Linked DNA regions of Homo sapiens: all the other regions are linked to region 2. Evidence: promoter capture Hi-C in 16 types of primary human blood cells and fetal thymus (Javierre and others, 2016). All regions are on one chromosome and are shown on one strand. The core of a region is centred on a gene start or on the middle of the fragment in contact, and the rest is flanking DNA. Distances in the headings are between cores, read along the strand shown. Region 1 has its middle 34 kb from the start of HYAL4. Region 2 holds the start of GPR37 (G protein-coupled receptor 37). Region 3 has its middle 35 kb from the start of TMEM229A. Region 4 has its middle 81 kb from the start of TMEM229A. Region 5 holds the start of SPAM1 (sperm adhesion molecule 1). Region 6 overlaps LOC124901741 (a long non-coding RNA gene). Region 7 has its middle 97 kb from the start of TMEM229A.

Region 1 (3,748 bases), core at 566-3,065, 950 kb after region 2:
TTAATTTGACTCCCACTCCCCCACAAAAATATAAAGGCAAATCTTCTTCATTCTTTATTTGTTGTTCAGGGAAAATGAAAGAATATCTACTCTCCATAAATATTATTCTTTACCTCCCTCTGGTCATGACTGCACATTGCGTATATATATGCCTAATAAACTGACACCCTTGGGAACAAAAAACACCTTTTTAAAATGTCATATCACAATAAATTTTTTAGAGCCAAAGGGCCTAAAAATACAAAATATTGTACTTTAGTAAAATACTGTTACAAATTTCCTCTTCTAGGAGATTTTCATTATGTTTTCCATGTATATAAATGATACACAATCATCTATTTTTCTAGCTAGCCTATGGAAAAATTATTTTGGCATTATTTTGGTCCCTAGTCTACATTTTATAACAGACTTCTACTACAGTAACAAAAATATGCATTATAATGGTATGCATTTTTAAATATAATGAATTCTTTCTACATGCTGCTGAGATTTTATTTTTTCTAGCTATTTTTATTATTCAAAATATAAAACTAGATCTACATTTTTCCACTTATAAAATATATATACTAATACATGCATACATATATACACACATACACTTGAATTTTTGTTCAACAAATCTGATATGTTTCAGGCAAGTAGCCAGGTCTAGTGAAGCAGTGGGGAAAGCAACATAATTCCACACATTGTAAAAAGGTATAGATACCAGCCAGACGCAGTGGCTCACACCTGTATTCCCAGCACTTTGGGAGGCCGAGGCAGGCAGATCACGAGGTCAGGAGTTTGAGACCAGCCTGGCCAACATGGTGAAACCCCATCTCTACTAAAAATACAAAAATTAGCCACGTGTGGTGGTGTGCACCTGTAATCACAGCTACTCAGGAGGCTGAGGCAGGAGAATCACTTGAACCTGGTAGATGGAGGTTGCAGTGAGCTGAGATTGTGCCACCGCACTCCAGCCTGGGTGACAGAGTGAGACTCCCTCTCCGACAACAACAACAACAACAACAAAAAAGGTATAAATACTTAGATGTAAAATATAAAACTATAAAACTCCTAGAAAATAATATAGGAGAAAATTTAGATTACCTTAGACAAGCAGATGACTTTTTAGATACAATACTAAAGGCACAATCCATGAAAGAAATAGTTGACAAACTGGATTTCATTAAAAACATCTCATCTGTGAAAGACACTGTTAAGAAAATGAGAAGACAAGCCACAGACTAAGAGAAAATATTTGCAAAAGACATATCTAACAAAGAAGTGTTATCTAAAATATACAAAATCTCTTAAATTTCAACAACAAGAAAATGAACAACAGATTTAAAAATGAGCAAAAGGCTTGAACAGACATCTCATCAAAGAAGATATACAGATATGAAAAGATGCTCAACATTATATGTCCTTAGAGAATTGCAAATTAAAACAGCAATGAGACACCACTACATGCCTATTAATGAATGGCCCAAATCCAGAACAATTCCAACTCCAAATGTTGGTGAGGATGTGTAGCAACAGGAAACTCTCATACATTGCCAATTGGAATGCAAAATGCTACAGCTATTTTGCAAGACAGTTTGGCAATTTCTCACAAAATTACATATACTCTTACCATACAATCCAATCATTATGCTCCTTGGCATTTACCCAACCAACTTGGAAACTTACACCCACACAAAAATCTGCACAAGAATGTTTATAGAAGCTTTATTCATAATTGCCAAAATCTGTAAGCAACCAAAATGTCCTTCAGTAGGTGAGTAGATAAATGAACTGTGGTACATCCAGATAATGGAATATTATTCAGTGCTAAGAAGAAATGAGCCATCAAGCACTGAAATGATGTGGAGTAAACTTAATATTACTAAGAGAATTAAGTAAGCATCTTACTAAGTGAAATAAACTATCTGTAAAGCTTACAAATTGTACAATTCCAACTATACATGACATTCTGGAAAAGAAAAAATATGGAGACAATAAAAAAATTTAGTGGTTGCCAAGGGTTGGGGAGAGGGACAGATGAATAGGTGGAACACAGTGGATTTGGAGAGCAGTGGAACTATTCTGTGTAATACTTTAATGGTGGATACATGCCGTTATACATTTGTCAAAAGCCATAGAATGCACAACACGAAGAGTGAACCCTAATGTAAACTATAGGCATTGGATAATAAGAACATGTCCATGTAGGTTCATCAGTTATAATAAATGTACCACTCTGGTGGGACATGTCAATAGCAGGGAAGGTTGTGATGTCAGGGAGAAGGGAGTATACAACAAGTCTCTCTACTTTCTGCTCAATTTTGCTAGGAACCTAAAAGTGCTCTGAAAAGTAAAGTCTACTTGAATGAAGAAAGTTATAGATGCAATTGCATTCACTGCTACTATGTTTGTAATAGAAAATCCTAGAAACAACATCTATGTGACCAACAAGGAGTTTCTTAAATATATTGTGAACTATATTATGGTAATTACACCAAATATTATAGTATGAAGTAACACGGGTTTTTTTTTTCCAGTTTCTTGTTGTCTTTCAACTTTTTCATTCATTTTGCCATGAAACCCCTCACAAGAAGAAAGTCAGCTTTAAAGAGCCAATTTCAGATTGACACCTGTCAAGTAAACATTTGCTGCTTCTCTTGCAGCCACTGATACCCACACTTCAACCATGCAGGAACCAGAAGCAACCTAGTATTTGGGGAAAAGCACTTGGCAAGGGATAGAGAAGAAGTGAAACACTCCTTGTCTTTTCTCCTGGCAGATTTTCTTCCATCAGATTTAATCCAGAAGAACGAAAAAAGAGTTAACTTTTACTAAACTTTGAATTTAATTTTATAAACCTAATTAGTGACTGAAGTGCTAAAATCTGGTTGTTGAGACTAAGGATCTGTAGGTGACTATAACTTTGAGGGGTTTAGTCTGCTCTTCAGTTTGATCTGATGGCATATGCTTCAATCAACTGGGGCTGTTCAATAAATTGTTAATGGAAGGGACACTTGCTCCCTCCCTGTCCAGTGGGATGTGACAGGTGAGAGAGAACACAACTAGCAGGTAAGAGAGATGCAGAAGAAAAGGTCCTAGAGATGGATGGTGGTGATGGCTACAATGATATGAATGTACTTAATGCAAGAAAGAATGTTGCAAATGCTGGGGGCAGTGGCTCACACAAGTAATACCAGCACTTTAGGAGGCTGAAGGGGGCAGAACACTGGAGGCCAGGAATTCTGAACCAGTCTGGGCAACAAGGCGAAACCCTGTCTCTACAAAAAAGAATACAAAAATTAGCCAGGCATGATGGTGCATGCCTATAGTCCCAGCTACTCGGGAGGCTGAGGTAGGAGGATCACTTGAGCCTGGGAGGTGGAGGTTGCAGTGAGCCGAGATCACGCCACAGCACTCCAGCCTGGGCAACGGAGTCAGACTCTGTCTCAAAAAAAAAAAAAAAAAAAAGAAGAAGAAAAAAAAGAAAGAAAGAATACTGCTGCAAGGGAAGCAGTGCACGCAGTGCACTTGGAGGACAGCCAGTTTTCTATTACAGCAAGAAAATACAGAGAAACTCAGAGAAGATGTATTTGATCTAGGGGATTCTCTTGATTGGAGATTTTAAGTTACAAAGAACATAATGGACAGGTTTTCAGGGTCAGGGAGTGGCATGATCTTGGCTCCATTAGAGAGTGTAAAGAAGAACACACAAAAGACAAATAATAATTTGGGAATTTGGACTTCATGTGTTAAAGGCATGATG
Region 2 (3,924 bases), core at 1,266-3,765:
CAGATTTCCCTCTTCTAAATTTTTTTTAAAGAAACAAGATACTACAGTTAGAGTAGAAGCTTCCTTCCATCCCATGACCATTCTTCTATTTCCTGAGGTGACTAATATTCTGAAGTTGATCTGTATTTATTCCATTCACATATTTTATATGATACACCATGTATGATTATCAAATTGTTTTATGTGCATTTTAAGAGCTACACAAATGGTAGCATTATATAGTTAACACATCAAGTTCTACGTTTTTCCCTTACATTTATGTTTCTGAGATTCAGTCTTGGTGATACACATAAGCCTAGTTTGTCCTTTTTATGAGTATACAAGAAAATATAAATTCAGTGAGAGCAGAACTTTATTTTATTCACTGCTCTGACCTAAGTAACTTGAGCAGAATATTTCTTTAATGAAGTAGTGAATTTGAGAGAATGAGTTAGTGTATATAAATGAATGAATTAATGTACAAATGAATGTGTGCTATTAGCTTATATTTTTTCCTATTTCTGGCTTTGTCTGATTTTGACATTAAGGTTATTCTGCCTTCACAAAATGAACTGAGTAGCTTTAAAACATTTTGTATAAATGTATATTTATTCCGCAGGATATGCTAAGGTCTAGCACTTTCCTCTGGGTAGATCTTGATGAATGATTTGATTTCTTTAATGTTATAGTTCGATTACAGTTTCTGAAAATTTTCTTCTTGAACTATTTTTGGTAGTTTATGTTTTTCTATACAATTATTCCTGTTGTCTCCATTTTTAGATTTAATGGTGTATTAGTTTACTATTGCTACTGCAACAAATAACCATAAATTTTGTGGCTTAAAACAACACACATTCATTATCTTACAGTTATGGAGGTCAGAAGTCTCAAATGGGCTAGTAGATCCTTTTTTATGCCCATTCTAGCTTCCAGAGATTGCCCACATCACTTGGCTTGTGTTTGTTTTTACTCTGACCCTCCTGCCTCTCATTTGTAAGGGCTCTTGTGATTATAGTGTACCCACCTGGATAATCACGATACTCTCCCCATCTCAAGAGTCTTAGCTGAATTGCATTGGCAAAATCCCTTTTGCTCTGTAAGGTAACATACTCACAGGTATTAGGAATTAGGATTCGGACATTTTTTTGGGGGGGCATTATTCTATTTACCACAATTGGTATCATATGTTCCATTGTGTTTTCTCCTGCCTCTCTAGATGTGTTGCTTTAAAAAAATTCAGGCCGGGTGTGATGGCTCACGCCTGTAATGCCAGCGCTTTGGGAGGCCGAGGCGGGCGGATCACGAGGTCAGGAGCTCAAGACCAGCCTGGCCAACATAGTGAAACCCCGTCTCTGCTAAAAATACAAAAAAAATTAGCCGGGCATGGTGGCGGGTGCCTGTAGTCTCAGCTACTTGGGAGGCTGAGGCAGGAGAATCGCTTGAACCCGGGGAGGCGGAGGTTGCAGTGAGTCGAGATCGCACCACTGCACTCCAGCCTGGGCGACACAGCAAGACTCTGTTTAAAAAAAAAATTCAGAATGTGTTTATTTCTTCCTCTATCATTTTCTCTTCATTAATTTGTCTATTTTATTAGCTATGCCCTGACAGTTTTGACAGGGTTGTGGGATATAGTAGAAAGGTTGGAAAGGCATGGACAGCCGTGCTGGGAGTGCTGTTCGAGTAATTTTCTGCCTCCAGTCATTTCCCACTACTTCATCAAATACAACTACCTCACTATGCTCTGGGTGGTACGAAGTAACCCATGGTAGGATGCTTCCCAACTCAGTGTTAAAGGTAATGGTGCATCCTGAGCTTTCTCGCTCTGCATCTCAATCCTGGAACTGGTAATTCTCTATGACTGACACCTCTGAGCTCCCATTCTCTCCTATCTCTAGGGAATACCTGAGGAGGTGAGGTTTCACCTTCTTACTCCCCGCGGCCCAACCCCCGTCCGCCCCTCCCCCGCCCCGCCCCTCGCCCCCCAGAGCTGAGACCTGGGCATGCGCATCAGCCGCAACAGATTGGAGGGGACCCTGCTGCTCACTCCCCTGCTACCCTCCTCTCTTCCCTCCCCCGACCGCTCTCATATTCCCGTTCCCACCCCCACCCCCCACTCCCGCCCCGCACCCGCCCCTAGCCCGGGCTCGGGGACCTGTCAGGCTGGTTTCGACAGCTGGGGAATTAACCTGTCCCGCCCATCCCTAGCCTCGAGCCGCGCAGGCTCCGCGCCTCCGCCCTTGTTCCCTCCCAGCTCCTCCGAGTGGAAGCCGCTACAAATGGCTTGAATGAAACGTGTGTGGGTTTAGTGAGTGGTGAACCACCAGGGGATCCCGTCTCCCCACAAACCAGTATCTCTCCGAGGAGGAGGCGAAGGAGTGGGAGGAGGCAACGAGCCGAGAGTCGAGCTTCGCGGGCGCGCGCAGCGGCTGGAGCGCGGGGGCGAGGCCGGGCCACCTCCCCTTCCCGGCCGCGCACTGCCTGGCCCGCGGCGGTTCCAGGCACCACCCTTCCCGTCCGGGCTGAGCCCGCTGTGGCAGTGACTAGCTCCCGCGGCTAGCGGCACTGTCCACCGACGAGCGGCGCCCTCTTCTCCCCCTTCTCCCCACGATTTCCTTCTCTGCGGCGGCACGCCGTCCAGCAGCCTGCTTCGCCCCGTCGTCAACTTTGAGCTGGAGGAGAAGCAACTTTGGCAGTGGCCGCGGGGTTGGAATCCCGCTTCTCCTCGGCAGCAGTAGGCTCGCAAGTCGCTGGGGTTAGGTGGGGCAAGAGTTTCGCCGGCGCATCAGCGCTGCTTCGGACTGTTTGCAACGTGTTTCCAGCGAGCTGGGAGCGGGGTTGTGACTGCGAGTCGTCTGGGGGAGGGGGACTTGTTTTTCTTTTCCTCTAGAGACCTCGGCTTGCAACTGGATCAAACGCTGTCGAAAGGATGTAAATAGGCAGAGCAACTGTTACCAAGAAGGCCACCACCCCCACCCAAAGGCAGTGAGGAGTGTGGGGCTTCGTCTGGGCTCCCCCGAGTCTCAACAGTAATCAACAGTCAGGTGTTGATTGCAACTTTTCAAGGTCAGCCACCGGGAGTAGCCTATTCCCTCTAGGAACCTTGGAGGGCATACCTTGCTGGGACTCAACTTGGCTGAGAAATGCACAAGATGCCAAAGGAGGAAGGATTATAGGGGGCGTGTGTGTGACCCCCAAGACCGATCTTCCGCTATCACCCTAATCTCCGGTTCCCCGCTACCCGGGCGGGGGTGAGTATGTGACATGTGCCTAACTCTCAGCAGCAACTTCGGCAGCAGGTGTCGATCCTAACTAAGCAGGAGCTGCGGCTGCCGGGTGTGCCCTCACCAAGCCATGCGAGCCCCGGGCGCGCTTCTCGCCCGCATGTCGCGGCTACTGCTTCTGCTACTGCTCAAGGTGTCTGCCTCTTCTGCCCTCGGGGTCGCCCCTGCGTCCAGAAACGAAACTTGTCTGGGGGAGAGCTGTGCACCTACAGTGATCCAGCGCCGCGGCAGGGACGCCTGGGGACCGGGAAATTCTGCAAGAGACGTTCTGCGAGCCCGAGCACCCAGGGAGGAGCAGGGGGCAGCGTTTCTTGCGGGACCCTCCTGGGACCTGCCGGCGGCCCCGGGCCGTGACCCGGCTGCAGGCAGAGGGGCGGAGGCGTCGGCAGCCGGACCCCCGGGACCTCCAACCAGGCCACCTGGCCCCTGGAGGTGGAAAGGTGCTCGGGGTCAGGAGCCTTCTGAAACTTTGGGGAGAGGGAACCCCACGGCCCTCCAGCTCTTCCTTCAGATCTCAGAGGAGGAAGAGAAGGGTCCCAGAGGCGCTGGCATTTCCGGGCGTAGCCAGGAGCAGAGTGTGAAGACAGTCCCCGGAGCCAGCGATCTTTTTTACTGGCCAAGGAGAGCCGGGAAACTCCAGGGTTCCCACCACAAGCCCCTGTCC
Region 3 (3,720 bases), core at 723-3,222, 700 kb after region 2:
AGTGATTCAATATGGTGGATAGCCAAATTCACATTTGAGAAAAATACTACAAAGAACATCCAGAGACTTGTGATTTAACTATGCCATCCATTAGTTGGATGAACTTGAACAAACTCAAAGTTAGTTAGAAACAATCTGTAAAACTCTATTTGTAAAATAGGAAGATTGATTTCTGGGAGTGGATCCAGCTCAATCTAGAAATTTCTTGAAGCTTATTTCAAAAAATATATACCAGCAAAAAATACACACATTCTGAGACCCTTGGCAAGATTAGCAGTCAGACTCCTTCACATCCAGCATATCACCTCTAAAATTTCCTCCTGGGTTTTGCTAAAGGCCCCTCCATTACAGAGAAAATTACACTAAAGATGTAATCATTCTCCACACAGGAGCTGCTTGGTTTATTTTTATTCCATTCAATCGTTCCTTTCTTTCCCCTTCATTGCAATTCCAAAGTGAGCCCAAATTCTCTGTTGTATATCATTCTACTAAAGCATAAGGTAGTTATTAAGTGTGATATTTTCTCTTCAGACTCCTTCCTGACCTTTGATCAGTCACCATCTCCAATTTAGATTTTACCTTCCTGAGGCAGAAACCGCATCTACACCGGGATATTCAGTAACATTGTGCCTGTTCTGAAAATGTACCTTCATTTCATTGGTATTCTAGATACATTCCCACATTTTAACTCTTCATGGTGTTATGCAAATTATATTAGTTGAACTAATTTTTTAAATTTAGGTTAAAATAACACATAACACAAAATTTACCATCTTAACCATTTTAAGGTATACATTTCAGTTGTGTTAAGAATATTCACATTGTTGAACAACAGATCTCCAAAACTTTCTCATCTTGCAAAACTGAAATTTTATGCTCATTAAACAACTCCCCATTTTTCCCTCCTCCAAGCCCCTGGTAACCATCATTCTACTTTCTGTTTCTATGAATTTGACTACTTTAGATACCTCACATAAGTAGGTATTTTTGATAACATCTGAACTAAATTTTATTATGTATATAGTTGTAAAAATGACTGTTATTTTATACCTTACTTATAAGGTATAAAATGTATAGTGACAACCCTTTAATCATTTCAAAATGACTTCCTATTCTTAAGCTCTTCTCTATTCAGTGTTTCCTTTGCTGTCACCCTGCTTCTCACACTCCCCACTCTTCCATCACTTTCAATCCTGGCCTCTAAAACCCTGTTTTATTGTAAACAAGCTCTTTATAGCTTCTTGTCTTAACTAAAATTTGACTTTCTTTGGAGGATCTCCCTCTCTCTACAGTCTTCTAATGGAGGCTATTTTTTATCTCATAATTCACATGACCCAAGTTCATGATGGTGGGGTGCAGAAAGAGGTATATTAGTTAACAGTCTTTGGTTGACAATAGAGATCCAAATTCAAATCTAGCTTAAGAAAAAAAGTTTAAAAGTTATTTATGGACTTACACAACTGGAGAGAAGAAAGAGGAATATTCTCAAAGGCACAAACAAATATAAATATGCCTCTAAATTTCAGCTATCACCTACACTTGTTTCTGCTTGAATTAATTTTCTCAAGATTCTTTTGCAGTCTTCTAGGCAATGGGCAATATGGCTGCTGCTAACATCAGAATCACATCATCTTTATCCTCCTCTTGAGGAGTGCATCTACAATGCAAAAGGATTCTAGTTGAAATAGCTTGGGTTACAAAACTATTCTTCAGTCCAATCACAACCTATGGGGCATATTGTACTATTGGCCCAGCCTAGCATATGATAAATATTCCACTGACATGAGGAACTACACACCAAAATGGACTATTCCTCCAAGACCACATGAAGTTCAGATCTCCAAAGAAAGACAAAATAGATTATCTACTAGACAAGAGGTGGCATTCTCCTAGCATGCCAGTTTTGAATAATTTCCTTTCTACGCTCCTCTAATAAAAGCAAACAAATCTCTCCTCTTTGAGGCAAGTTATCCAGCTCCTATTCTCTGCCATATACTGCCATTGGTCAAGACTTAACTTGGATGGTTCTGGCACCAGTAACTCACAATATTCCAACATCATGTTGTACAACTTTCATGTCCATTTGTATGACTCATCCAACAGCTGAAAGTCCTAGACTCACAGTTTCTTAATCTCCTAAAATCTAGAGATTTTAATTTTCTATTTTCTGAATTGTATTGACCACAGAACTCTTTCACTCCAAAACTGCAGATTTTTAATACTATCCTCTCTGGCTACAAACTCTAACTTTCCACCAATATGTCCATATGGACAGCCAATAGAAATATCAAACTCAATATGTCCAAAAGTTAACTCATCTCTCCCAAAGTAATATTTTAAAAATTGCTTCACTTCTTCTACTGTATTTCTGCCTTGTTGAGTAAGATCATCATTTGTAATGCTGAGGAAAGGAACTGCAGAATTATGTTTGACCCCTCTCTCACACCACAAAATCAGAACAGGACATAGACCATGGCTTCTACCTCATTAGCAGTTCTTTGATCCCTCCCTTTTTCTTCACCCCATCCCTCATGGCATAATCTTAGTTCAGGCTCTAATCAGTTATCAATTAGAATACTGTAACAGTCTTCACTCTTATCTCCTTTGAACCTACTTTCCACAGTGTTTTTAGAATGAGTTTCCTGAAATATGCCTGGCATCGTGCTTAAAGATGTAAATTGAAAACTACATGGTCATATCCTCTCTCTTAATAGTGCAGAAAATTGAAAGCAAGTGACTTACTTTTTAAAGAATGAACTCATGCCAACATGGATTACAGGAAAGAAGACAAGCCAGTGTTTTCTGGATAAGAAAGAAATCAATTTGCCTTTCCAGGACCCCTAAGAGCTCAGAAAAGGAATTGTCAGGTATGGTGGAAGGTAAGAGTGAAACATGGACTGAAAATCATGGGGATAAGTTGGAAGGATGTGTATGCAAAACACACACCATGCCAAAACACTGGCAGTCCTGGCTTTGCTCCTCACCATGGGAAGTGTCCAACCATGGGAAGTTAGTTACTTCTCTACAGTCATTGAAGGGCTGTTTGGTAATTTAAATGAAAAAATTATATAACTATGTTGAGAGGGTAAGTGAAGGATGACAAGACTGCTCTAAAACTACAAATCACCAGCTTTTACTACAGGAAGTAAATGGATAATATCCAAACTTAAATTCAAAATTATAAACATTTCATTTGAAGATGCAGTAATAACTACCTAAGAAAGAGCTAAAGGAGTTAAAAGTACTTTAGAAAAAAGTGCATTGTAAATTCATTGTATGTTTTAATCTAATAATAAAATATTAAAATTTTAAGTACATATCCAAAGTTATTGTTGACATTTTTAAAGTCTTTCAGTGACTGCCATTGTTTTCCAGATAAACAATGGCATCTTGATCTCTTCATGATCTCATTTATGATTACATCACCAGCTTCCTCTAATCCTTCTCTTTCCCAACAAATCTGTAATTCCTCAAATTTATTACACTTCTGTGTGGGGGGCAAGTGGGGGCTTCTGTAAATTTTTCCAAGCTGCTCCATCTTCATCCAATCCTACCTCTTGAACACTGGTTACTACCAGCCCTTCAAAATTCAGCTTCACCAGGAAACCTTCCCTAGACCATTCAGTCTGCATTAAATATACCTTCATTTTGCATCCATATTAACTCATACCTTTACTCACCCATCATTCATTTATCCAATAGATATGTATTGATTGATAG
Region 4 (3,449 bases), core at 497-2,996, 650 kb after region 2:
GTTTTTCCACCATCATTTATTGAAGAGACTGTTCTTTCCCCAGTGTATGCTCTTGGTACCTTTGTCAAAAATGAGTTCACTGTAAATATGTGGTTTTTTTCTGGGTTGTCTTGTTCTCTTGGTCTGTGTGTGTCTGTTTTTAATGCCAGTACCATGCTGGTTTGGTTACTATAGCTTTGTAATATAATTTAAAGTCAGGTAATGTGATCTCTCAAGCTGGGTTCTTTTTGCTCAGGATTACTTTGGCTATTCTGGGTCTTTTGTGGTTACATAAAAATTTTAGAATTACTTTTCCTATTTCTTAAAAAATGCCATTTTCATAGGGAATGCATTGAATCTGTAGATTGGGGATTACAGACATTTTAACAATATTAATTATTTTAATCTGTGAACATGGAATTTCTTTCCATTTTTGGGTGTCCTCTTCAATTCCTTTTATTAATGTTTTATAGTTTTCATTATAGAGAGTTTTCACTTCTTTTGTTAAATTTATTCCTAGGTATTTTATTTTATTTCTAGTAAATGGGATTATTTTCTTGGTTTCTCTTCAACTTCACTGAATTTATCATTTCTAATAGTGGGTTTTTTTTTGGAGTCTTTAGGTTTTTCTAACGATAATGTCATATTATCTACAAACAAGGATAATTCCACTTTCACCACTTTTATTCAGCATAGTACTAGAAGTCCTAGCCAGAGCAATCAGACAAAAGAAGAAAATTAAGGGGATGCAAATTGTACAGGAACCGATACATTATTTAACCAGTTTTCACTGTACATAACTACAGCTTACCCCATAGTGAAGCTCTTGAGAAAGAATAGAAAACACATACATCAGAATTTTCCCAGTCAAGGGAAGATAGACATAAGGTATGTTTAATCTCATAGTTGTCAAATTATTGGGTAACAGGAGCCTGTGGATAGATATTAATTCCTAAACACTTCTGGCTCACGGTGGATTTGGATAAAGTGGGTTTTGGAAGCATAAGGGCAACTCTCTAACAAAGATGCATGTGGTGGTTGTCAGAAGTCAGGTGTACAGCTGGGAGGCACAGAAATGGTAAGAAAATCCAAGAGGCTATGTGGACAGACTACTGACTGCATCTGTTGTTACAGGATTGCTTGTTTAAGAGCGTGATTGTAATAAAACCTGATATAGATAAGCACATGTATAATTTTATTAAATTTTACCAAATTATTTCTTAAAGTATTTATGCTAATTTCACTAATAGTAAGAATGTTAATTACAGCATGTAACCATATGCATTATTTCACATCCTCATCCTTTTTTGTGGTAAGAACACTTAAAATTTACTCTTTGCAATTTTCAAGAATATAATACATTGTTCTTAACTATAGTCAACATGTTGTACAATAGACCTCAACGTATTTTTTCTAACTAAAATTTTGTATCATTTGACAAACATCTCCCCACCGTCCCCACCCCATACCCCATCCTCTGGTAACCACCATTCTATTCTCTGTTTCTATGAGCTTAACTTTTTTGGATTTCATATATGAGATCACATATTTTTGTGTCTGTTTTTGCCCCTTTTCTCTATTAAATCATTTATTCCTTTGTTATTTGAGTTGTAGAAGTTCTTTATATATTCTAAGTTCAATACTTTATTGATATTTGTATTACAAATATCTTTTCTACTCTATTGCTTGTCTTTTCTCATTTTTCATGGTGACTTTTGAGGACTGAATTTCAAATTTTTTAAGTAATTGTGTTTATCAATCTTTTTACTAACAATTTGTGTTTCTGGTGTTTTGTTTAAAATGCTTGCTTTTTTCTATCAACATTTCTGTCCTGTTCCTGAAGAAACAAAGACATAGGTACTCTTGAACACAATTATCCTCCTTCTATCTGACGTGCTTTCATTGTCCAGTATTGTAGTTCTATCTGAAACTCCTCAAAATGGACACTGTCTCAGTCAATATTTGTTTTTATTTACCCACATGTACACTGAGTTTATAATTCTATAATTACACTCTAACTAATGTGATGAATTAATTAATAAAGAACATTTATTTAGTCTCCCACTATACTATTGATCACTCTGCCTCTGGACAGAAACTCTCCAGAGGTCCCTTGATTTTCCTGTTCATTCTGACAAAACGCAAAACTCCCATCAACTATTTAAAAATGTTCAGTTCCATATGATCGCCACCTTGATTAAACATTAAGCCTTTTCCTTTTTTTCCACAGCTGGAGTCTGTAGAAAACTGTAGTCAGGAAGGCAGTATAGAACATTTCTTCTTTCTTCTTCCTCCTTTTCTTTTCCCTTTTCCTCTCTCTTCTTAAATTTTTGAAACCTGAGTGTTTAGGTAAAGAGAGGGAGAAGAAAGGGGGTAGGAAGTTCTTAATTGACTAGTACTTGGTACTGTCTTCTCACTCTCTGTGCCTGGCAAGGATTTAAAATTTATTCTCTCCTGGATGCTTTCATGGTTCGTTAGAGACTCTCCTATGTTGTTGATGAAAAGAGCTTTAACAATCCCCTCAGCTTGTCTTAATTTTAGACAGGTTTGTTTCTGACCTCCTTTTCCCTAGAAAATTTACTTTAGGAAACTTACCATTGTAAATTTTTTCTCTGTATCTTTAAGATGTAAATCTTCTCCCAGAAAGGTAATAATTAAAGGAAAAAAATTAGCACTCCTATCCCCCAGACTCTGTGGGAGGTGGTAGGAGCTTAACTTCAATAAGCACCGACTGACAAACATAAATGACCTAATCACATGACCAACTTCCTCCTATGTCCTCCAGTGCTTTCTCACTACACTCCAGTGCTTAAAAGTCTCCTGTCTTTTTTTTTTAGCAGACTTTTTCTCTATTGCAATAGTTTTGACCCCTTTTTCAATAGTCTTAAATAAAATCATCTTGCCATTTTTGAAAAGCATCAGTGCTATTTTTCTTTTACACTATGAATATCTCAACTGTAGTTTCTGGTACCAGAATGTATGAGTTTTTAATCTGGTTCATATCTTATGGCTCCTTCATCAGCCCTTAGGTGTCTCAGGGATATGGATTTGGTGATCTAGAGACAACATTAAACGGGATAAAGATTCCCTAGAGCAGTTCATCGGTTCTGAAATGAAGGTCATGGTACAACCCTCCTAAAGCACAAAGGCAGGGTTAAGATCCTGAAGATAGGCTTGGGCTGACATTGTATTATGACAGCAATGACACTTTTTACCTCAAAAAATCCAGCTGGGAGAATTTTAAACTTGGAATTTTGAGCCTTATACCTCCTGCCTTGCAATTCCTTAGTTTTTAAAGAGCTTCTGGCTTTATAAGAGCTGATAAAGCAGTACTGAGTACATCCCTTTAAATTGGTTGTACAATCTAAGGCTGTTCTAGTTAAAGAGGTCCACAATACTAATAAAGATCTATTTTTTTCCAGTTTAATATTTATGCTGTAGAAAATCCCATTTAGGTGGTCCTATAATGC
Region 5 (3,950 bases), core at 590-3,089, 840 kb after region 2:
TATGAGACAAGGAAAAAAATATTTAACCCCAAGATCTATTTCCTTGCCATACCTTAAAATTGCCCTGCAGTGTCTCATGGGAAGAATCCACATCCTATAGAGAATCCCCTTCCCCTTTGTTTTCTTTCCTTCCTTCCCAGATCCAGAAGATAATCAACTAAGAGCCAGGCACACTTTTAAGTCCTATAAAAAAACTATTTACAACCTGGTCTCTCTAAAATCTCCTATCTAAGAGCTTCCTCTGCACAATAAAACTTGGTCTCCATAATCCTTTATCTTTAACCTGAACATTCCTTTCTATCGATCCCAGGTCTTCAGACAACCTCAACCAATTGTCAGCCAGAAAATCTTTAAACTTATCTATAAGCTAGAAGCCCCCACTCTGAGTTGTCCCGCCTTTCTAAACCAAACCAATGTATTTCTTAAACGTATTTGACTAATGTCTCATGCCTTCCTAAAACACATAAAACCAAACTGTACCCCGACCACCTTGGACACATGTTCTCAGGACCTCCTAAGGGCTGTGTCACGGGGCCATAATCACTCATATTTGGCTCAGAATAATTCTCTTCAAATATTTTACAGAGTTTGACTCTTTTCATCAACAGGTATGTCCTATACTATATTTCTGGTAAACCAAAAAGTATCAGAGACAGGTCTCAATCAATTTAGAAGTTTATTTTGCCAAAGTTAAGGATAAGCCCAGAACAAATAAACATGGAGTCACAGAAACAGTCTGTGGTCCGTGCCTTTTTCTAAAAATGAATTTGAGGGCCTCGGTATTTAAAGGGGAAAAGCAGGCCGGCGGGGAAAGAAGGAGGGTATGATAATCCACATGTTGCAAGGGAAAAGAAGTAGGTAGGGGAATAGTCAATTATGTATTCATCCAGTGCTCAGTAAATCTGCACTTTACATAAGATAAGGTGAACACAGAGTAACTACCTGTGGAGTTAACATTTTATCTCTAGCTATCTGCTTAGGAACAAGAGAAAAGGCAGTTTCTTGCACAACTCACATTTCAGCTTAATTTTTTTTTCCTTTTGGCATGATGAATTGGGGTTCTGAGTTTTTATTTTCCTTTCACATTCTCAAGTCAATTAGACCCTATGGCATCAGGCATGTCCCCATTCCTGTATGAAGTAGTCACAGCTGGTGCCTTAATTGGCAAATTCAGTATTCTTACATTAGGTTCCCTCCTTTACCTCCACGTTCCCCATTCTCCCATTCTGTGTCCATTCTCTTATGACTTAATAAGACACAGCACCTCGCAACACAGTAGCAGACCACCTATACACAGGTCTTATTAACCAATCCCTCCATTGTAATGCCTTTTTTTTTTTTTTTGTGACAGAGTCTCACTCTGTCACCCAGGATGGAGTGTAGTGGCATGATCTCGGCTCACTAAAACCGCCATCTGCCAGGTTCATGCAACACCATGATAGTGGTAAAGAAATTAACGACTGAGGTTATTCCTCATTTTGGCATTTCTTTATAGATTGAATCAGACCAAGGAACTCATTTTTTAGTAGAAATAAACCACTCACTCACAAAATCTCTGGATTACTCATTAAAACTTCTTACTTCATACCATCCTCAATCATCAGGTCAAGTGGAACATAAAAATCTAGACATAAAAAGAACTTATAGGAAAAAATCCATCAAGCCAACTCTTTCAACCAGGAGATCAGGTATACATCAAGATTTTTAGAAAAAGCTTGTACTGTTACCTTGCTAGGAAGGACCTTATGAGGTGCTGCTAACCACCTACACTGCTATCATACTTTCTGAATTTATGTGAGCCACATCAAGGTGGAGCCAGTCATCACTCTCAGGACAACTGGAAGACCATCCCTACAGGTGACCTCATAGTAAGGATTTCAGAGCCAAGGCTCTAGAAGCAAGATGACACCACAAAGCAAACAGCTTTCCTCAAGATCACAGATAAAAAACTTTGCTTTCATCTATTTTCCCCCTTTAAGTTTCTTTCCTCCCTGGTGTGGGGAGGGGAGTAGAGGGGGGATCTTTTTCAACAAAACCTCCCATTTATTGAGAAGCTGACTGGAGATTACTTGTCTCAATCTATCCTATTCTCTCTCTGATCCTCCACTGTGGGCTTTCTTTCAAATGCTGCCTCTTTCATATTAACCTCACTCTTTTCTTCATAGGTTAAACACAAACCTGACACCACCCTTGCACCAGTTTCCCAAACCTTGGTCATGTCAGCTAAACAATATAATTATTGCTTATGTCAACATCTGATAGCATGAACAAACCTGAATTAGTTTTTATTCCTGTCCATGGGGTACCAGGTGGACCAACTATGGAAGATAAATGAATGAAAGAGTATGGTATCCATGGTCAGAAAAACAATGTCACTCTACTTTTCCTTCTGGTGAGTTCACTGGGCAAGGAAAAACCTCTATGTAAGCTCAAGAATTGTCCCTTGCTCAAATAAAGACATTGGAAGAAAAAGACTTTTCCAATTAAAAACAAATATGGTACTGATCTCTTCCCAAGTAACAATCCAAGACAATATTGCAATCAAACCCTGTAGTTTGACTCCATACACCACATCCTCAAACCCATCATGGAGGTCATAATGAGGCAGGAGAATAGGGTTGGGAGACAGGGAGCCTGAGGACAAATTGGCTGACTTCTTGGAATTGGACCAAAAGGAAAACCCCACCTCTCCATGCCCAGGTGAAAAGGGACCAGAGTTCCTGACCTCTACAAAACCCTCCTCCCCTACCTCACGAACGAGAAATGCCTCTGACTGGTTGTGGCCCAAGCCTCCACTTCAGCCTCTGATTGGTTGCAGGCCAACCTCCACTTCAGCTTCTGATTGGTCACAGGCCAAGCCTCCACTTCAGCCTCTGATTGGTCTCAAACCAAGCCTCCACTTCAGTGTCTGATTGGTCACAGGTCAATCCTTCATTTGCGTAGGGTGTAACCAATTGGAGGTCTCTAAAGGGTACCTAGGGGTGTTAACCAAATTCTTTTAGTTTAATTTAAAACCCTGAAGAACATTGCAGTCAGGCTCTTGAGCCACTTGCTCAAGCTTGCTCCTACTCTGTGGAGGCTACTTTCACTTCAATAAATCTGTGCTTTTGTTGCTTCGTTCTTTTGTTGCTTTGTTTGTGCGTTTTGTTCAATTCTTTGTTCAACACTCCAAGAACCTGGAAAACTCACAGTCAGGACTTTCTATCCGGTGACAATAAGTGATTCTAGAACTACCTTTTATAGCACAAACTTTTGCCAAATCACCAAATGTGTTGGCTGGTTCATAGGCCACTCTTGCACAACCTGGGTGGGATAGCTCGGCTGCTCTCCTGATTAGGCTCCTTAGCACCAGAAATTGTATATAAATAGATCAAAAATCTGGATTAACTTGGTCAGGTGACAAAATCAAGCCTTTTAGCTGCCAAAGCCAGATTGCAGTTCTCCTATGTCAAATGTTTCACAACATTTTCTGCTTCTACAAACTGACAGAGGCACGTGAAAATGAAGGTGTGGAGACATCAATATGACCAATAACAAAAGTTGTGGAACACACTAGATCTTGGGAATTACAGGTTCCACTTTTTGTTCATGAACAACACTGGTCATTCTATCTTGTGTGGTTGATGAAAATGCTGCCTCTTTGTGAATCAGTTGGGACAAACGTTATCTGATTTATACCTTTGAACAAAAAAGATTAATATTCTCCATAAGATAATGAGGCTCAACCATTTGATTAGACTGACCTATTCCCAGAGTTGGGAGATTGGTTTAATGGGATATGGAGAAATGTGCTTAGATTTGCACTTTTCTGCTTATTTATTCTCATTCTGATCTACATATTCTTCTTTTGAAGATCTATCACTCAGCTGCTAAACTGATTCTTCTCTCCACAGCCACTAATTCAGATTTTATTATGAGAAACTTATGGTAAAGTTTCAGATGGGGGAAAT
Region 6 (3,837 bases), core at 105-2,604, 680 kb after region 2:
ATAAGAAAGAAAAAACATATTAAAGATATTATGTTGAGATATCCTGTATAATATTGTGCCACTTGTTTTCTATCAATACTTTTAGTGAAAACAGGAGTTATATTTTTTTGAGTATAAAGTAATACACAGTAAAAATGAGTTAACAGGCTTTTTAAAAACATATTGGCTAGACATTTTTAAATTATTGAACATGTCAGTTTGAAAGATTTTTAGTGTGTTTCTGAAAATAATTATAAACGATGTGTAATGCTGTCAAATCATTTCTCATCAATGAAAAAGTAGAGAAGCAAATAGGCATAGAAGTACTAGTTAACTTGAAAACACAAAGTCAGAAGTTGAAAGTAAATTTGATAATTTTCAGAAGACAACAATGTATATTTTTCTCAGCTCTACCTAGGGACTTGAGAAATGTTCCCATTACACACAGGGAAGATAGTACAAGAATTAGCTAATCTTAGAATCATAATGTTACTGGTACAACAGATGGTTTAAATGGTATGACTCCATTATTTCATAACTGATGAAATGAGGGCTTATCTGAAATCATAGATTATTCAAAACCACAAATTGATTAATGCAGAGCCCAGATCAAACCATAATTCCTGCCTCCCAGATAAGTTTCCTTCCTGCTATGCTAGTATACCACCAACTGCCAATTTCTAGCAGCTGGGACTTCTCTGTTGCAGGGGTCCATGCCCTTCGTATAACTGTGACTAAGTAAAATCAGTCTCGTTCATTTCTGCTACCTTCCAGTTACCCCTCCCAGGTCCTTACCACCTAAACCCTTCTCTGCTATGATCCTCCTTCCTAGGATCACTCCTTCCCCACTGAAGCTCCCTTTTACCTGATCCTCTATTCGTCTAAAGTGGTAGCTCACAAATCTGATCCATTTATCAAGCTAATGTGCTCAGGAAGGAACCTAAATCAACTGTCCCATCTGTATGTGGTTCTACTGTGGCTTTCCTAGAGTAATACCCAACCTGTTATCATTTTAACTCCATGGCTAGCAAACAGCATATGGGATTATTTCGGGAAAAAAAAAACAAAAAAAAACATTTACAAGGTCCTTTTATTTTTTCATTTAGTCTGAAAATACCTGAATTCACTTTAATGGTCAATAGGTATACTCTTATAACTTAAATCCTGTTGCCTACTTTACTTAATAGAAAATATTTTCTGAAAAAGTATCATCGATTTTAACAAACATATTAATATATAGGCATATTTGAGAAGATTAATGCAGCTTTCTAACCTTTGATCCTAAAATTAGATCACTAATCATGTGTATTAGTCCATTTTCATGCTGCTGATAAAGACATACTTGAGACTGAGAAGAAAGAGAGGTTTAATTGGACTTACAGTTCCACATCTCTGGGGAGGCCTCAGAATCATGGTGAGAGGTGAAAGGCACTTCTTACATGATGGCACCAAGATTAAAAGCATGAGGAAGAAGCAAAAGCGGAAACCCCTGATAAACCCATCAGATCTCGTGAGACTTATTCACTATCACGAGAACAGCAGGGGAAGGACTGGACCCCATGATTCAATTACTGCCCCACCCCCCATCTTCTCCCTCCCACAACATGTGGGAATTCTGGGAGAAACAATTCACATGGAGATTTGGGTGGGGACATAGCCAAACTATATCATCATGTCTTGAACTCAGGCAGCACTAAAGATACAAATACTTATCATTGATACAACCCACTGAGAATTTCAGAATTAGGAAATTCAAACCATGTATATGTGGAAGGCAGTCCTGCAGCAGCTGAGTGGCAGAATTTGTTGTATGGGAGAACAGGTAGAGTCTTCCTGAAGCCCTGAGATTACACAGACTTCATATATGTACTAAGTCTGCCTTACTGAGTATTTCATATTCTATAAACATGAACAGAGACAAAATAAGGCTTTAAATAAATAGTTGTGAAGCCCTAATCATACACAGTCCTTTGAAGGCTTTAGCTTCAACACATAATGAAACTAACTAACAAGACATACTAGCTCCTTTATCTTGTTCATGTTCTCAGTAATGTTTTATTGGGCATAAGTTAGGATAAAATGTATCCAAACAGAAAAGGAAAAAAAAAAAAAAGAATAGAGCAGCAAAGTCATCCAATAATGGAGAAACAAAGAAAGGACAGAATGTCAACAGGCATCGTAAAGTTTCCTTTGGCACGTGTACAAAAAGTCATTGTTCCAGCCAGGCAACCATATGCCTATAATGTGTCAGAGTCGTTCTCTGGGCAGGAATCCAGGGCTCCAGCCTTCAACTCTCTAATGTGGATTAATAATTCATTGTGTTATCTGAAAGACTGCATAATATAACTAGTCAGCTGACCCATGAACAACAATTCCTCCCAAGTCACATACACAGTTTTCAATGTTACCATGCAAAACAAGTCTCCACTTTAATCTGCCCATTGTAACATCGATTCACTCAATGAGAATTGGGTAGAAAGATGCATCTACCAAAGGCGATTCAGCTATAGGTGCTGTGAGAGAGAAAGGCAAGAAAGAAAAGAAATGAAGGAGTTTGGAAGGTCAATATGTGCTTGATTCCTGCCATGTGCCAAGAAATATGCTGAGAACATACAATCCTCAGGACAATTCTGTGAGGCAGGTAATGGGAGTATTCCCATTGCAGAGATGAGGACATTAAGAATTTAGGGCTGGGCACAGTGGCTCATGTCTGTAATCGCAGCACTTTGGGAGGACAAGGCGGACAGATCACTTGAGGTCAGGAGTTTGAGACCAGCCTGGCCAACATGGCAAAACCCCGTCTCTACTAAAAATACAAAAAAAAAGAAAAAATTAGCCAGATGTGGTGGTGCATGCCTCCAATTCCAGCTACTCAGGGGGCTGAGGCACGAGAATTGCTTGAACCCAGGAGGCAGAGGTTGCATTGAGCCGAGATTGCACCACTGCAGTCCAGCCTAAGTGGCAGAGTGAGATTCTGTCTCAAAAATTAAAAAAAAAAAAATTTAGAAAAGCTAAGTACATTACCCACATTCATTAATCTAGTTGGAAGGACTCGAAATTCTTCAGAAAAATGATCAGCTAAAATGGTCAAAGAAACATACCTGGAAATAAAGAAAAAATAGCTCCAAGACTCCGAGATAACATATGAGCAGACATATATATTGTACAAATTGAATATACAAGCACTGAGAAAATTTAAAATGATAATATCCAAACAGTGTTAATAAAAACTAGTAAGAACACTTTATGGAGATGAAGCTTGACATTGCTCCAAAGCTTCTCAACATTTTAAATAATGTGTGGCTCTATATTTAAACACTGACCTAATTACTGAGGCTGAGAAATACCAGATGAGTGTGGAACTTTAAAGTACATGAGTTTTAACAGGAAGAGCTCCAGGCTGGCCAGCATAAAAGGTTATAGATAGCATCTCTACTTTGCGAGCAGGGAGGAAGGAAGCAGAGAAGACAGCTTCTTCCTCTTCTAGTGGAAATCTATCTGGATGGCTGACAGATCACATCTGTAACAAGAGGCATCTTTTACGTCTTTACCAAGCAAATAATTAAAATCCACACGTCCAATGCAGATATGTATCAGCATCACCCAATTAAAAATTTCATCAATACTCAGAGGGATTTTACTTCTGCCAAGACTTTCTTGGCTCTTTAGTATCTATTCTCCTTAGTTAAATGAACAATTTTAAAATTCTAGAATTACTGACTCACTTTTTTTTTAAGAACTGGCTACCATGAAGTTCATGAATAAGGCTCTTGAGACATGCGAAACACAAGTCATTTTTATTTTAACCTCTTATTGAAAACCTTGCACTTTCGGTATCATGAATTTTGATTTATTTAT
Region 7 (3,527 bases), core at 265-2,764, 640 kb after region 2:
ATCCCAGGTTGGAGAAAAAGAAATGTGTATAAGCCATCATTATTTAAGCACACCTTCAGTTTCAGACCTGACTAAAAACGTGAATAGCAGGAAAATACAAGAGTCTATTGTTTGTGCCCATCTGAAATCAGGAAGTGATGAATCCCACTGGAGAGAGCTTGTTTCTACTTGGTTCCAAATCCAGTTTTCAGATGAAAGCGCCTTGAAGAGGTAGGGTGAAGCTTTGCTTTGTGAAGCAAATGGTCGGCTTACCTCCAATGCTTCAACCAGCAAGCCTTGTTCTTTCTGTTCTGTTCTGAACCAGTTTCAATAGCAAAAGAATGTTTGTTGTTTGAGGACTGGATGCTATGAAGGAGCTTTGGAAAACAAATAGTCTCAGGGGCATGATCTTGCATACCAATGTCTCCAGAACTCATCTGGCTTTCACAGATAACTTAAGGTTGTATATATCCTAAAATAGTTGAATATATTTATCTTTTGCTATAGCACTTGCATTTTAAGAAAGTAGGATAACTAAACATTTTAAGAACCTAATTATGATTTAAAAATAAAGTTGAAAATGTAACTCTACGTTTAAAAAAAACAAGAGTAAATTTTCTTTTTTCTCTATTTTGAAAACAGCCTAAAAACAAAACAGATTGAGTTACATGGGGAGGAGAGTGGAAAGTGTGAAAGAGACACAAAATCCAGAGAATTAGGTTGTACCTAAATGAAAGAAATATTAAACTATGCAATGAAAAAAATAGAACATTTTCACATTATTTTTCCTTACGTCCCTCTCGCATGTCAAAATGAGTACTGATATGTCAGGGTTTCCTGCGAGTATGAGTAATTTATCAGGACAAGAAGGACCACTGGGGAAATGAGGACCCAGAGTTTTCTAAAGCCTATTATCATACAAAATAACCTCACAATTATATATTTGTGTTTTTCCCATTCTGAACTCTAACTTTGACAGAAACTCTCTCCTTGACCAAGACAAGTTCATTTAACTGTTTTTTTTTTCACCAGGCCTCATCCCTGTTCCCCTTCCTTCACCTGCTGAGCTCAGCTTCAGCAAAGAATCCTGATAAAATAGTTTGTCAATTATCTCCCCTACCATTGATATTTCAGGCAAGCTCTTTCCTCCACCTTGATGCCTAATTAAGTTCCTCTCCTCGTCCACCCTTTATATTAAACCAAGCTCCTATTAGTAATTTTCCATTCACTCTCTCACTCTACCCATTGGGTATAAATCCTTGCATGTCCGTATTGTATTCAGAGCTGAGTTCAATCTTTCTCCCCTATTGCAATAGTCTTAAGTTTTGATGCAATAGTCTTAAAGTCTTCTCTGCCATTTTTAACAAATGTCCAGTGCGGGTTTGTTGTTGTTGTTGTTTGTTTGTTTGTTTTTTCACAGCATCTGACACAGGATAGTATGTTGGGAATCTGGAATAATTTCACTGGGTTCAGACCCAACTATAGCATTTGCATCAGATAAGCTATTTAACCTCACCAAGTTTTAATTTTCTTATCCATAAAATGGGAATAATGATAAAGTCTACATCATACCATTGTTGACAGGAATAAATGAGAGAATCCTTGTAAAGTTCCCCTGTCTAACCCAGAGTTGGCTCTTGCTTCTTCAGAATGAAACTGGAACAGTGCGCATTAACCTTCTCTTTTAATGTCCACATAACTGTTTGACAAGCCAAACTATCTTCAGAAGATATTGGACATTATTAACCTTTCCCTTATATTACATTAAATTAGATTATTAACCTTACAAGTGCTTTTTTCCTGAGAAAAGAAGTATAGATTACCAACAGCCAGAGGACCAAACACATCAGCTGCTGATGCCATTGTTGTACCATGTGACATTGAATTGAAAGTCACCAAAATATCAAACGCCACTCCAGTAGTAACAAGCTCTCAATCTTGCTTACCAGAAATTCCTTTGAATTCTTAACAGTACAAAGTCTTACGTTTATTTTTTTAATTATATTTTTGCAGTATCCTTTCCTGCTATTTTCCCTAGCTTCCAACTTTAGACCTTCTGCATTTTAGGAGGTTTTACTCTGCTACCTCTCTTTTGACTGTGATTTGTTTTAAGTAAGGACAAAGATAGAGATAAACATAAAATTACATCTCTTGTGCTCAGTTGCTTTTCTTGTTATAGAGAATATAAGTTCCTATGCAAATTCTAGGGGAGATCTCCTTAAAAATATTTACAACTGCTTAAATATGACAAGGTAATATATGATGCATTTCTATATGGGAATGTTTTGATGCATTATGTATCCCCTATTTTCTACTAATTCATTTTTCTTTTTCACTTCATTGACTTCATTATTTTTCCTTATAAGTTTCTGGCACATATTGGACTGCTTATTATAGCAGATTTTTTCAAATATTAGGCCTAAGCTCATAAACATTTATCATTTAGAACCTGCCTAGTGAAAAATAAAACAGAGCATTAATTGGAATTTCACCAGTTTAGAAATGTATGGCAATTCTGACCTCGTATTTGTGTGTGGGGAGGAGGGGAGGGGGGGATTCCAAGTAAAAAAGATTGAAATAATTTATTTTTCTCTACATCTTCAGGGACTTGCTCTTGAAACAGGAGAAGTTAGGCTAAAATAATTTGCTTGCCTACAAGACCCAAGAATTTCTCATCTTCAGTTATTGGATCCTGACTTCTAGAATACTAAAATGTTTTTGTGCTTGTGTTATTATTCAGTATTATAAATACAAATATTTAGTTTGCTCATCTCAAATTTCTTTTTGTAGGCAATTATAATTTAGTAAGCAGTGCATACCAAGCTTGAAGATTTAAAATATTTTGCAACTGAAGCTTTGCATGAAGTACACACTCCCTTTCCCTTCCTTTTCTTAAAATCTTAAGGTACAATTTTTGAACTGTTTTTCAGTTTGGCTTCATAGTCTAGGCAGGTATTTCACAGTGTTATATGGGAACTTCAACCTTTTCCCTTATTGTTTTGTGAGTCTATTCATTTTCAGGGTACTAACTTACCTGATGAATAGTAGAATCATAGGCTAGTCAAGCCATGAAGGATACTAGAGAGCATTTCATGCAGTTCCATAATTTTTAAAATGGAGAAAACAAAGACAAAAGGTACAAGTCACACAGTTTGTTAATACTGAGTCCAAGTTACAAGATTTCCATCATTTTTGTGCCATCTCTTTATTTCTTAGATCTCTGCTCACAACCGAGACAGAACAAAATTGAAAGTAGGTGGAAATATAGGAGAAAAAATTCTACCTCACTTGCTCATTCCCCAACCATCACAATTTTCTCCTCTTAGTCATTCACATTTGAATCTCTAAAAAGTTTAAGTCTATTTTTCTTTGAGTTGTGGGAAACTAAAAACCTGAGTAAAAAAATCAGTATATCACATCAAATTCTGTGACTATTTTTTCATAAATTTAGATAAAAGCATAGTGACAATAATGCTTAATAAGTGAACCTGAGTGCATTTCTTTCACTCTTCATTTCTTTGCTTGTATAACTGCTCTTTCACACTTTA

The links. The method cuts DNA at HindIII sites, captures the fragments that hold promoters and counts their contacts. A CHiCAGO score of 5 or more calls a contact.
Region 1: a contact is called between a fragment that was not itself captured here and the fragment with the promoter of GPR37 in region 2, in 1 of 17 cell types (M1 macrophages). The highest score is 5.7, in M1 macrophages.
Region 3: a contact is called between a fragment that was not itself captured here and the fragment with the promoter of GPR37 in region 2, in 1 of 17 cell types (endothelial precursors). The highest score is 6.0, in endothelial precursors.
Region 4: a fragment that was not itself captured here is called in contact with the fragment with the promoter of GPR37 in region 2 in 1 of 17 cell types (endothelial precursors); the score reaches 5.7 in endothelial precursors.
Region 5: the fragment with the promoter of SPAM1 here is called in contact with the fragment with the promoter of GPR37 in region 2 in 1 of 17 cell types (erythroblasts); the score reaches 6.6 in erythroblasts.
Region 6: a fragment that was not itself captured here is called in contact with the fragment with the promoter of GPR37 in region 2 in 2 of 17 cell types (endothelial precursors and M2 macrophages); the score reaches 6.4 in endothelial precursors.
Region 7: a fragment that was not itself captured here is called in contact with the fragment with the promoter of GPR37 in region 2 in 2 of 17 cell types (endothelial precursors and M2 macrophages); the score reaches 6.2 in endothelial precursors.

What each region holds. Positions count from the first base shown.
Region 1 is chr7:123,809,099-123,812,846 of GRCh38, reverse strand. It overlaps a transcript of HYAL4 not described here. Among named protein-coding and RNA genes, the nearest start is that of HYAL4, 34 kb to the left of the region's middle. The HindIII fragment of the contact is 210 bases long and covers 1,711-1,920 here.
Region 2 is chr7:124,764,383-124,768,306 of GRCh38, reverse strand. It overlaps GPR37 (G protein-coupled receptor 37), which reads left to right and starts at 2,515. Exons shown (of 2, transcript NM_005302.5): 1 at 2,515-3,924. The coding sequence starts at 3,331. RefSeq lists a silencer at 2,374-2,503. The HindIII fragment of the contact is 5,609 bases long and covers 62-3,924 here.
Region 3 is chr7:124,066,701-124,070,420 of GRCh38, reverse strand. No RefSeq gene overlaps it. Among named protein-coding and RNA genes, the nearest start is that of TMEM229A, 35 kb to the right of the region's middle. The HindIII fragment of the contact is 3,517 bases long and covers 214-3,720 here.
Region 4 is chr7:124,112,501-124,115,949 of GRCh38, reverse strand. No RefSeq gene overlaps it. Among named protein-coding and RNA genes, the nearest start is that of TMEM229A, 81 kb to the right of the region's middle. The HindIII fragment of the contact is 3,920 bases long and covers 1-3,449 here.
Region 5 is chr7:123,923,130-123,927,079 of GRCh38, reverse strand. SPAM1 (sperm adhesion molecule 1) reads right to left here and starts at 1,839. Exons shown (of 5, transcript NM_153189.3): 1 at 1,728-1,839. The HindIII fragment of the contact is 1,344 bases long and covers 1,717-3,060 here.
Region 6 is chr7:124,083,788-124,087,624 of GRCh38, reverse strand. The region is part of intron 1 of LOC124901741 (a long non-coding RNA gene); the gene reads right to left. Among named protein-coding and RNA genes, the nearest start is that of TMEM229A, 53 kb to the right of the region's middle. The HindIII fragment of the contact is 3,771 bases long and covers 1-3,239 here.
Region 7 is chr7:124,128,345-124,131,871 of GRCh38, reverse strand. No RefSeq gene overlaps it. Among named protein-coding and RNA genes, the nearest start is that of TMEM229A, 97 kb to the right of the region's middle. The HindIII fragment of the contact is 2,581 bases long and covers 224-2,804 here.